Regions from separate parts of the Homo sapiens genome. Here region 1 is linked to region 2. Evidence: promoter capture Hi-C in 16 types of primary human blood cells and fetal thymus (Javierre and others, 2016). All regions are on one chromosome and are shown on one strand. Each heading gives the region's core, a stretch centred on a gene start or on the middle of the fragment in contact. The rest is flanking DNA. Distances are from core to core; before and after follow the strand shown.

Evidence for each region. The method cuts DNA at HindIII sites, captures the fragments that hold promoters and counts their contacts. A CHiCAGO score of 5 or more calls a contact.
Region 1: a contact is called between a fragment that was not itself captured here and the fragment with the promoter of SLC38A11 in region 2, in 1 of 17 cell types (total B cells). The highest score is 7.0, in total B cells.

What each region holds. Positions count from the first base shown.
Region 1 is chr2:165,811,511-165,815,863 of GRCh38, reverse strand. No RefSeq gene overlaps it. Among named protein-coding and RNA genes, the nearest start is that of GALNT3, 19 kb to the right of the region's middle. The HindIII fragment of the contact is 737 bases long and covers 1,691-2,427 here.
Region 2 is chr2:164,953,525-164,957,622 of GRCh38, reverse strand. It overlaps SLC38A11 (solute carrier family 38 member 11), which reads left to right and starts at 2,098. Exons shown (of 12, transcript NM_001351537.2): 1 at 2,098-2,414; 2 at 2,878-2,992. The coding sequence starts at 2,376. The HindIII fragment of the contact is 8,780 bases long and covers 1-4,098 here.

The sequences.
Region 1 (4,353 bases), core at 810-3,309, 860 kb before region 2:
GATTATATTTTTGACTCTGCATAACATAAAATTGTAGGAGTGGAGGTGAAAAAGTTCAAGGGAGAGGGGTATGAAAAAGGAAGTGTTTACCAAGAGAAAATTTAGCATAGGTCTGCATTACTTCCTTGTGCAGCCATTGATACTTCTTGTTCTGCTGGTTTTAGTCTAAGTTTTCCATTTTATATCTCTATTTGCTGAAAGACAACAAGAGAAAAGCTGGGCCTGGAAAAGAATTGGCCCACAAGATAGTTTTAATAATGGCTAATATTTTGAGTGCTTACAATTTGCAGTCACAGTGCTAAGACTTTGATCATCTGACTAAACCCAGTGCTCATGATGTAGGCACTATTGTTAACCTAAGTTTACAAATGAGGAAATGGAAGCTTAGATTGGTTAAGAAAAAAATAAAACTAACCAAGGCACACAGCTGTGCTTTAATCACTATTCTAAAATGACAAATGAATGATGTGAGTATAATAACCTGAGATGAGACAATGGCTGAGTAAGAAGGGTCTTGGCCTAGGAATAAAAGGGCTCCGTTTTTCATCTGCCTCGATTATGGGGTTATTGTGAAAAATCAGCTAATGTCTCTTTTAAGGCCTCTGTAAATGTACACGAACCAAAAACACAATGCATTACTCTAGTACACATAAGACAGAATGGTTTGAGAATTAGGAAAATCCCATCAGAAAACTAAAATTGAGGGAGTCCACACTTAATATTAGAGGGAGAAAGATGGCTATATGACTATTTGATTAGGTATTCTGATGTTTGGGGCAGACAGAGGAGGATGGGCCCAAGATGCTTTGTAGGAAAGCAAAAAAGCAAAAGAGGAAATACCAAATGAGGATGAGTAGGTGTTGGCTAGCATAGCATGGAGATGTTTAGACAAAAAAAAAAAAAAAAAAAAAAAAAAAAAAGGAGAAAGCAGCAGAAGGAGACAGAGACACCTAAAGCCCAATTCCAAACTAGAGAAACAAGGAAGTGGATTTTTCTCTGGCTGCTGGATTGTCTATGTTTGCCACTGTGGCTGCTGAAACAAATGCTAACCTACTTGGTCTTGTGCATATTTGTTTTGTGGATGCATGGGCCATCTGTGTTCCGTCTATAAGCTTCGCTTGCTTTGCTTTTCTTTCCTCTCTTTGTCTCTTTCTTCCTTTCTTTCTTTCCTCTCTTCTCCTTCCTCCCTCCTTCTCTCCTTCCCTTCCTTCCCTTCCTTCCCTTCCTTCCCTTCCTTCCCTTCCTTCCCTTCCCTCCCTTCCCTTCCTTCCCTCCCTTCCCTCCCTTCCCTTCCCTTCCCTTTCCTTTCATTTCCTTCCTTCCTTCCTTCCTTCCCTTCCCTTTCCTTTCGTTTCCTTCCTTCCTTCCTTCGTTCTTTCCCTCCCTCCCTCCTTGGAAGCTCATGAAGTTGAATTTGAGATTTTTGCCAAATATCTTAAACCAGTGGTCTTCAAATTTAGTAAGAATTGGAATCCCTGAGATTTGTTTGCCAGATTTAGCAATTAAAAGTACAGGATACTCCATTTAATTTGAATTTCAGATAAATAATAAATTTTTTTTTAGTATAAGTATGTTCCAAATATTGCATGGGACAGACATACTTATACTGAAAATTGTTCATTGTTTATCTGAAATTCAAATTTAACTGGATGTCCTATAATTTATCTGGCACCTCTAGCTGGGGGAAGCTTGTTAAAATACAGATTTACTAGTTTCATCTTCTAACTCTGTCAGTTAGTCTGAAATGGAGCCACGTGGGCCTCCAGGTGATTCCAGTGCAGCTTGTTCTTGGACAACACCTTGAGAGATACTGGTCAAGCTCGGATGATGCTGACTTGAGGCTGAAACATTTCAGGAGGAGAGAAGGACACCTGGGAGAGAGGAGGGAGCTATGCATAACCATGGTAAACCCAGGGATGCTAGAGGACCTGGTCCTTGAGTAAGACCAGAAATAGCTCTGAGTGCTAGGACCCCAGTATGGTAACAAAAGAAGACACTGATTGAGCCCCACTGTTGTCATTTAATCCTCTCAACAGCCACATGAGAAAGATAACTCTTATTGTCTGTATCTCATTAGATGAGGAAATAAGAGCTCAGGATTAATTAACTTGTCAAAGGTCGTATAGGTAGTACTGAGTGGAATCAGGGTTTGATCCAAGACTGGTTATTTCCAAAGTCCACATTCTGAGCCAGTCCTATGAAAAAATAGTAGGCTTGAGGAGTTTTGTCAATACAACCATGTATATATATTGCTAAGTTACCTAAAGTATAGTCAGGGATGTGACATTTGCCCTCTGGAAGTGCTCAAACATCTCTACATTCTAATATATAACAGGCAAAGTGTCTGGGCATTTGTGAAAAGCCTAAAGATTTAAGCTACTAAAATATTTGGAGACTGATTAGTTGAGATATTGTTTAAGGAAAGCTTTTTTTGTCTAGAAGGCTCAGCCACATCGCCAAACCCATCATCCTAAAGGAAAGTATGTCAAGGGACCACTTCCTTTGGAGAATAGACCAACAATTCTCTCACCAGTTGACTTGAGACAGCTGAAAAGGCTCAAGAGAATGTCAGATAAGACCACTAGATACAGGGAACAGGTCAGTGGAGGAATTGGAGCCAATTAGACTAGAAGAAAGACAGCTCGAAGAAAACATGGCTAAGGATTCCTAACATTTGTAGAGCTGGTAAAGAGAAAAGGCAATGGGGAAGGAGGGATATGACTTGGAAAAGGATTTGACTCAATAACTATGTGGTACATTGCACTGTTATTCCAGATATTTACGGCTGTTCTCTGGGTTGTCTTGCTCCTGGCCCTGTCCTTCTCTGTGGGATGACTCCATGTGATGCATGTTGGCTAATGACATGTGGAAGCTCTAATGGCCAGTATACGATCCTCCAGGACCTCTTTTCCTCTGCCATGAGATCAGAAATGTCCCAGAGAGGGGCTTCTCCCTCAGCCAGGATCCCAGATGGATATCAATATATACCAGAGCCAAGCTGATTTGATAGGCACATAATGTTAGCCAAAAAAAAAAAAAAAAAAAGAAAGCCTCTGTTGTATTAGAGCTGACACTTTAGGGCTGTTTGTTACTGCAGAACAGCTTAGCTATCCTGACTGGTGAAATAAGAAACCACACTCTAAAGTCGAAGTTGTCTAAGCATGGAAAGGACTACTTGAGGAAGTGTTAGGTTCCATGGACTGGAAGTACTCGATATAGCTATACTACCAGTTTGGAGGATGTTAAAGAAAAACAAAAACAAAAACAAAAAAATGTCCTGGAGAGAGGTGGATTGAAATTTTGGCTGAGTAATTGGATCTTAATCTGTTCTCCATACCTGAGAGTCTATGCTCTGTTAATGGAAGATACAAGTAGGTACAAACTGAACAAGACAAATTGTATGGATCCATGCTTTCAACTCACTTGAAGAAGAGGAACACAGTGACATTAGGGTAGATTAGTATCAATTTGTGGTTACTGAAACTTATACTTGTTTGAGAACAGGCTTCTGCAATGTAACTAAAAGGAGAGTTAAATATTTATATGGTTTGAGATTAACCATAAAAGACCTTCAGGGGAGGATTAGAACACAAGAATAGCTAGGGAAAGTGCAATTTGGTCACTACCATGAGCCTCTCCCCAGAATGCTGCTAACTGTTAGTTGTGCAGTGCCAAGCCACACACTTGGCCAGAGATCAGAGAAGACAGGGTTACAGGGTGGGATACCACCATTCCATCAGATCCACAGTGCCCAGAGAAATATCTGGGTAGTATTCATTCTCTTCTTCTCTCTCCTCTTTCCTGTTTATTCCCTTCATAATCCTGAGCTTTCACCCCTTCTTCCCTTTCATTCACCTCTCACTCTTAACTTCATCTCTCTTAATAATCTAATGTCTCATTATTTTCTCATCTGTCCATGATCTGACCTTGTTCCCATTGATTCATCCACATAAGTCACCAGTGAGAAAGCTAGGAATGAAAAAGCATAAAAACAAAGCAGAATTATAAGAGGGAAGATTTTATTCATAAAATGAATTAATCAGCATGTAGTGGTATGTGCATTATGTGCAAGCATGGCTTGGGGAGAAAAAGAAATCTTGTCCAAACTTCAGCTCCACTGCTTATGCCCTGGGTGGCCTTGAATGAATTTCTTAGCCTCTCAGTGTTCTCTGTTTTCTAACACTTAAGATGAGGCTAATAACTACCTAGCAGTGTTGTTGTGAAGATTAGATAAAGTACGTTATACCATTATCACATAATAGACACCAGATAAAAGGTTGCTATTATAGATTACATAACATTTTAGTTCAATTTGGATCTGTGTTCACCACTTCTTATTTCAGCTTAAATGCA
Region 2 (4,098 bases), core at 849-3,348:
ATTAGGATAAAATACAAATCTATACAATAATTATACACCACTTAAAAATCCAGCAGAACAATTAAACTTAAAAAATAGATTAAGTAAGTCCTGGTGTTACAGACAATGTAGAAAAACAAGAATTTCACCTCTGTTGGTAGAAGTGAAATTCATGTTATCAATTTGCAAAGCAATTCAAAAATATTTAATGAAGGCCAGGCACAGTGGCTCACACCTGTAATCCCAGCACTTTGGGAGGCCGAGGAGGGTGGATCACCTGAGGTCAGGAGTTCAAGACCAGCCTGGCCAACATGGTGAAACCCCATCTCTACTAAAAATACAAAAACTTAGCCGGGCGTGGTGGCAGGCACCTGTATTCCCAGCTACTCCTGAGGCTGAGGCAAGAGAATCATTTGAACCCAGGAGGCAGAAGTTACAGTAAGCCCAGGTCACACCATTGCACTCCAGCCTGGGCAACAAAAGCGAAACTCCATCTCAATAATAATAATAATGATAATGAAGTTGAAAGTGTGCATGACCTACTACCTAACACTTCTACATCTAGAGAAATTGTCACTTTTATGCTCTGGAAGAGTGTAAAACGAGAAACAACCTTAATATCTTTCAGTAGGGGAAGGCTGACTTAACTGTTAGATAAAATGAAAAAAAAATCTGCATATATCTACATCATACATGCTGAAAACAAAAATGCCAGTGGAAAAATAACATGTACAATATGGCACCATCTTTGTAAATGTTGAAAATACAAAAGCCAATGTTATATATTGTTTATGGCTATAAATGAACGGATTAAAATACAAAGTATGAATAGCAAAGATAACACTAACTTGATGAACCGATGACTCCAGGGCTGAAGGCCTGGGGAAAGGAATGGAGAAGGTCAAGGGGGTTCCTATTGTGACATTGTGTTTACTTTTACAATTTGAAGAAAATATGACAGCATGTTAACATTTGATGGCAGAGTGTATATAAAGTTTATAAGTCTTTTGTTTTCCCACGGTTTTTAATTTTTTTTCTTAATTATAAGTAAACATGTATGAAACAGAACCTCTTTAATTAGGTACAGTTGGCCTCTATATCCCCACTTCTGCATCCATGCATTAAACCAATCCCAGATCAAAAATGTAGTTAGGGCTAGGATGGATGTGTCTATACTGAACACATATGGACTTTTTTCTTATTTCCTAAACAATACAGTATAACAACAAGTAAATAGCATTTACATTGTATTAGGTATTATAAATAATCTAGAGATGATTTAAAGTATGCTGGAGGATGTGCCTAGGTTACATGTAAATACCATGCTGTTTACTATCAAGGACCTGAGCATTCCTGGATTTCAGTATCTGCAGGGGTTCCAGAACCAATCCCCTATGGATATCAAGGGAAGGCAGAATTTGTTAAGTATGATGGCATATCACCGCTCTTATTGCCCCTGAAACTGTTGTCTCATGCATTCTGTCTCTGATATTGAATACTCTCTGGGCTTGTTGCTTCATCTGTAATGTAAGAGGACTGAATAGGTGGTCATTGAAGATTCTTTCTAGCTCAGGCACTGTAGGTGCCACCCCTTTCCCAAACCCTTGTACTCCTCTTTCCCTTTTCAAGGTTCATTACCTGAATGCAGTAACAATCCACCTTCATTTTCTCTATCGCTCCTTTTTCTAAAAGTTACCAGGAAGCGTTTGACCAAAGCATGCTCAGTAGTCAAGTTTGCTAAAACCCTAGGAAAGTTTTTTGTTTTGCTATTCATTTTCTTATGAGTCTTTCCATTTCCATTTACAATAAAAGTCCCAAATTTTCACTCGTCGTCTCTGCCATTGAAGAGGGGTAGCGAGGAGGAGGTGCTAATAGGGAAGATGGCCCATGGGCCCAAGGGTGCTTCTGCGTTCTTACCTGGGCTTCAGACCCCAGCAAAGGAGAAGCTAACTTAGGAACGGACTGCAACGAGGCGGTCATAACTCTGTGAGATCGGGGCAGGGCAGCGTGGGTGGAACAAGTTGTCCTCTGCAGCTCCAGGGAAGAGTAGCTCTCCCTGTTCTCTCAGGGAGGCGGGGGTGTGAAGGGGGGAGGCGGGGAGACAGGGCTGCCCGGATCAGAAACATCCTGCAGCATCTCCGTCTCCGGAGGAAAAATACATTTGTCTGGGCGAACTCCGGTGGAAAAGCGCCCCAGGCTGCCACAGCCTAGAGATCTTGGGGCTGCAGCCCTCGCGGCCTGCCGAGGGAGCAGGGGGCGCCCGTGGAACTGGCTCCCTGCAGCTCTGCGGCTACACGCGGACCTCGGCTGTGTGCGAGGTGGCGGAGGAGGCTGGCCGGGTGCGAATCCGTACCCAGCCCCAGCATCTTCCACCTGCTGAGGACCACCGCTCAGCCATGGGCTACCAGAGGCAGGAGCCTGTCATCCCGCCGCAGGTAAAACTAGCGACTAGGCAGGTTCTGAAGCCAGTTGTCCGGAAATTTCATTCACCTTGCAACAGGTCAGGTCACCTACCTTCACCTGGGCTCTTGGTTTAGCACCGCGAAAAGTTCTCTGGGACAAAAAGTTTTGCCTTAATCTGACTTTTTTTTTTTTTTTTCTTAGCAGGCACTTTAATTTCACAAAATCACATCACTGAATTCCTAACAGATCCTGTACTTAGCAGCTGGGGCAGCTGTAATCTGGAAATTTTAGGATGGAGTTTGCTTACCAAGCTCTGTTGAATTACTAGCTGTTATTGTTATTCTTTATTACTGTTATCCCGGCATTTATTTTATTTTCATTAGTGACATTACTTATTATTACTAGAAAATCGTGTTAGTATCCTGCATTACATATTTGTTACTTTTCTAATTTTCTGAACTAGTATTTGCTTATAATTGCTATTTTATCTATTAGAGAGATTTAGATGACAGAGAAACCCTTGTTTCTGAACATGAGTATAAAGAGAAAACCTGTCAGTCTGCTGCTCTTTTTAATGTTGTCAACTCGATTATAGGATCTGGTATAATAGGTAAGTGTATTTGCTTTGGTTTAAATTTTAAGTGAAAGGGCAAAATTTAAGACTCGCTACGCTGCTAGTGTTCATTAATTATTTTTAAAGAAAAAAAGACTTAAATAAGAAAATTGGTAATTTTCTTCCATAAAAGGCTTCCTTTTTTTCTAGTGTAACAGTATGTATGCATGTCTTTTATGCTGAAGATGGGGCTGTAATTCACACTGTTTCCACAGTTGAGAGCATCTTCCACATGTGGTAGATTAAGGTGAAACTGCATATGGGTGGTGGTGAATCATTTTTCTGTAGGCTGCGTGGTTGATTGCTAGTGTTACCGAATGTACTTTTTCCACTTACTGAAGGGTCCATCATTATTTGAATCATCTTTCTTTAACTTTCTAGAAGTATAAAACTTCCAGATATTTGTAAATGTTGGAGGTGAAAAGTTTAATATGAAAACATACCAATCTTATGAAAAATTAAATTCATACATTCTTTACCTATCTATACAGTGTTAAATTTTAAAGTACAAAATTATTACAATATATTAATTTTAAATATTATTTAGTCAACAATGCAAATTTGTTCATTGAAAATGCGTATTATTTTCCTAATAAAGGAGCCATACAATCAGAATTAAAATAAATAAATAGCTCAGATTTTTCCATTGTATTAGAAGCAAGGGAAATTTACTGAAAAAAGTTAAAAGTGCATTGCATTATAGTAATAAAAGCAGCTATATTTTCAGTGGTTATTATTCTTTTTGGTATCTGAAAACACTCTATCTCAGAAAAGACAAGAAGAAAACAAAATCCTGCAAAATGCAATACTTTTTGAGAATACAATGTTTTATAAAGTTGCAACATTTTTGTTTCTGTCATCACCTTCTGAAAATTAAACATTTATCTGGATTGAGTTACTTTTCTTACTCTTGAATTACTTTTCTTACTTTTCACAAGTTAATATGGTTCTTGATTTTACATTTTTCTATGGATAGTCTTTTTTTTTTCTCCAAATGATACATAAAATGGAGTTACCTGAGGTAAAGTAGAAGGAAACAGGGACAAAGACTTGTTTACAATTCTACCTCCATGTACCATGAAGGTATGAGCAGCTGTACTTAG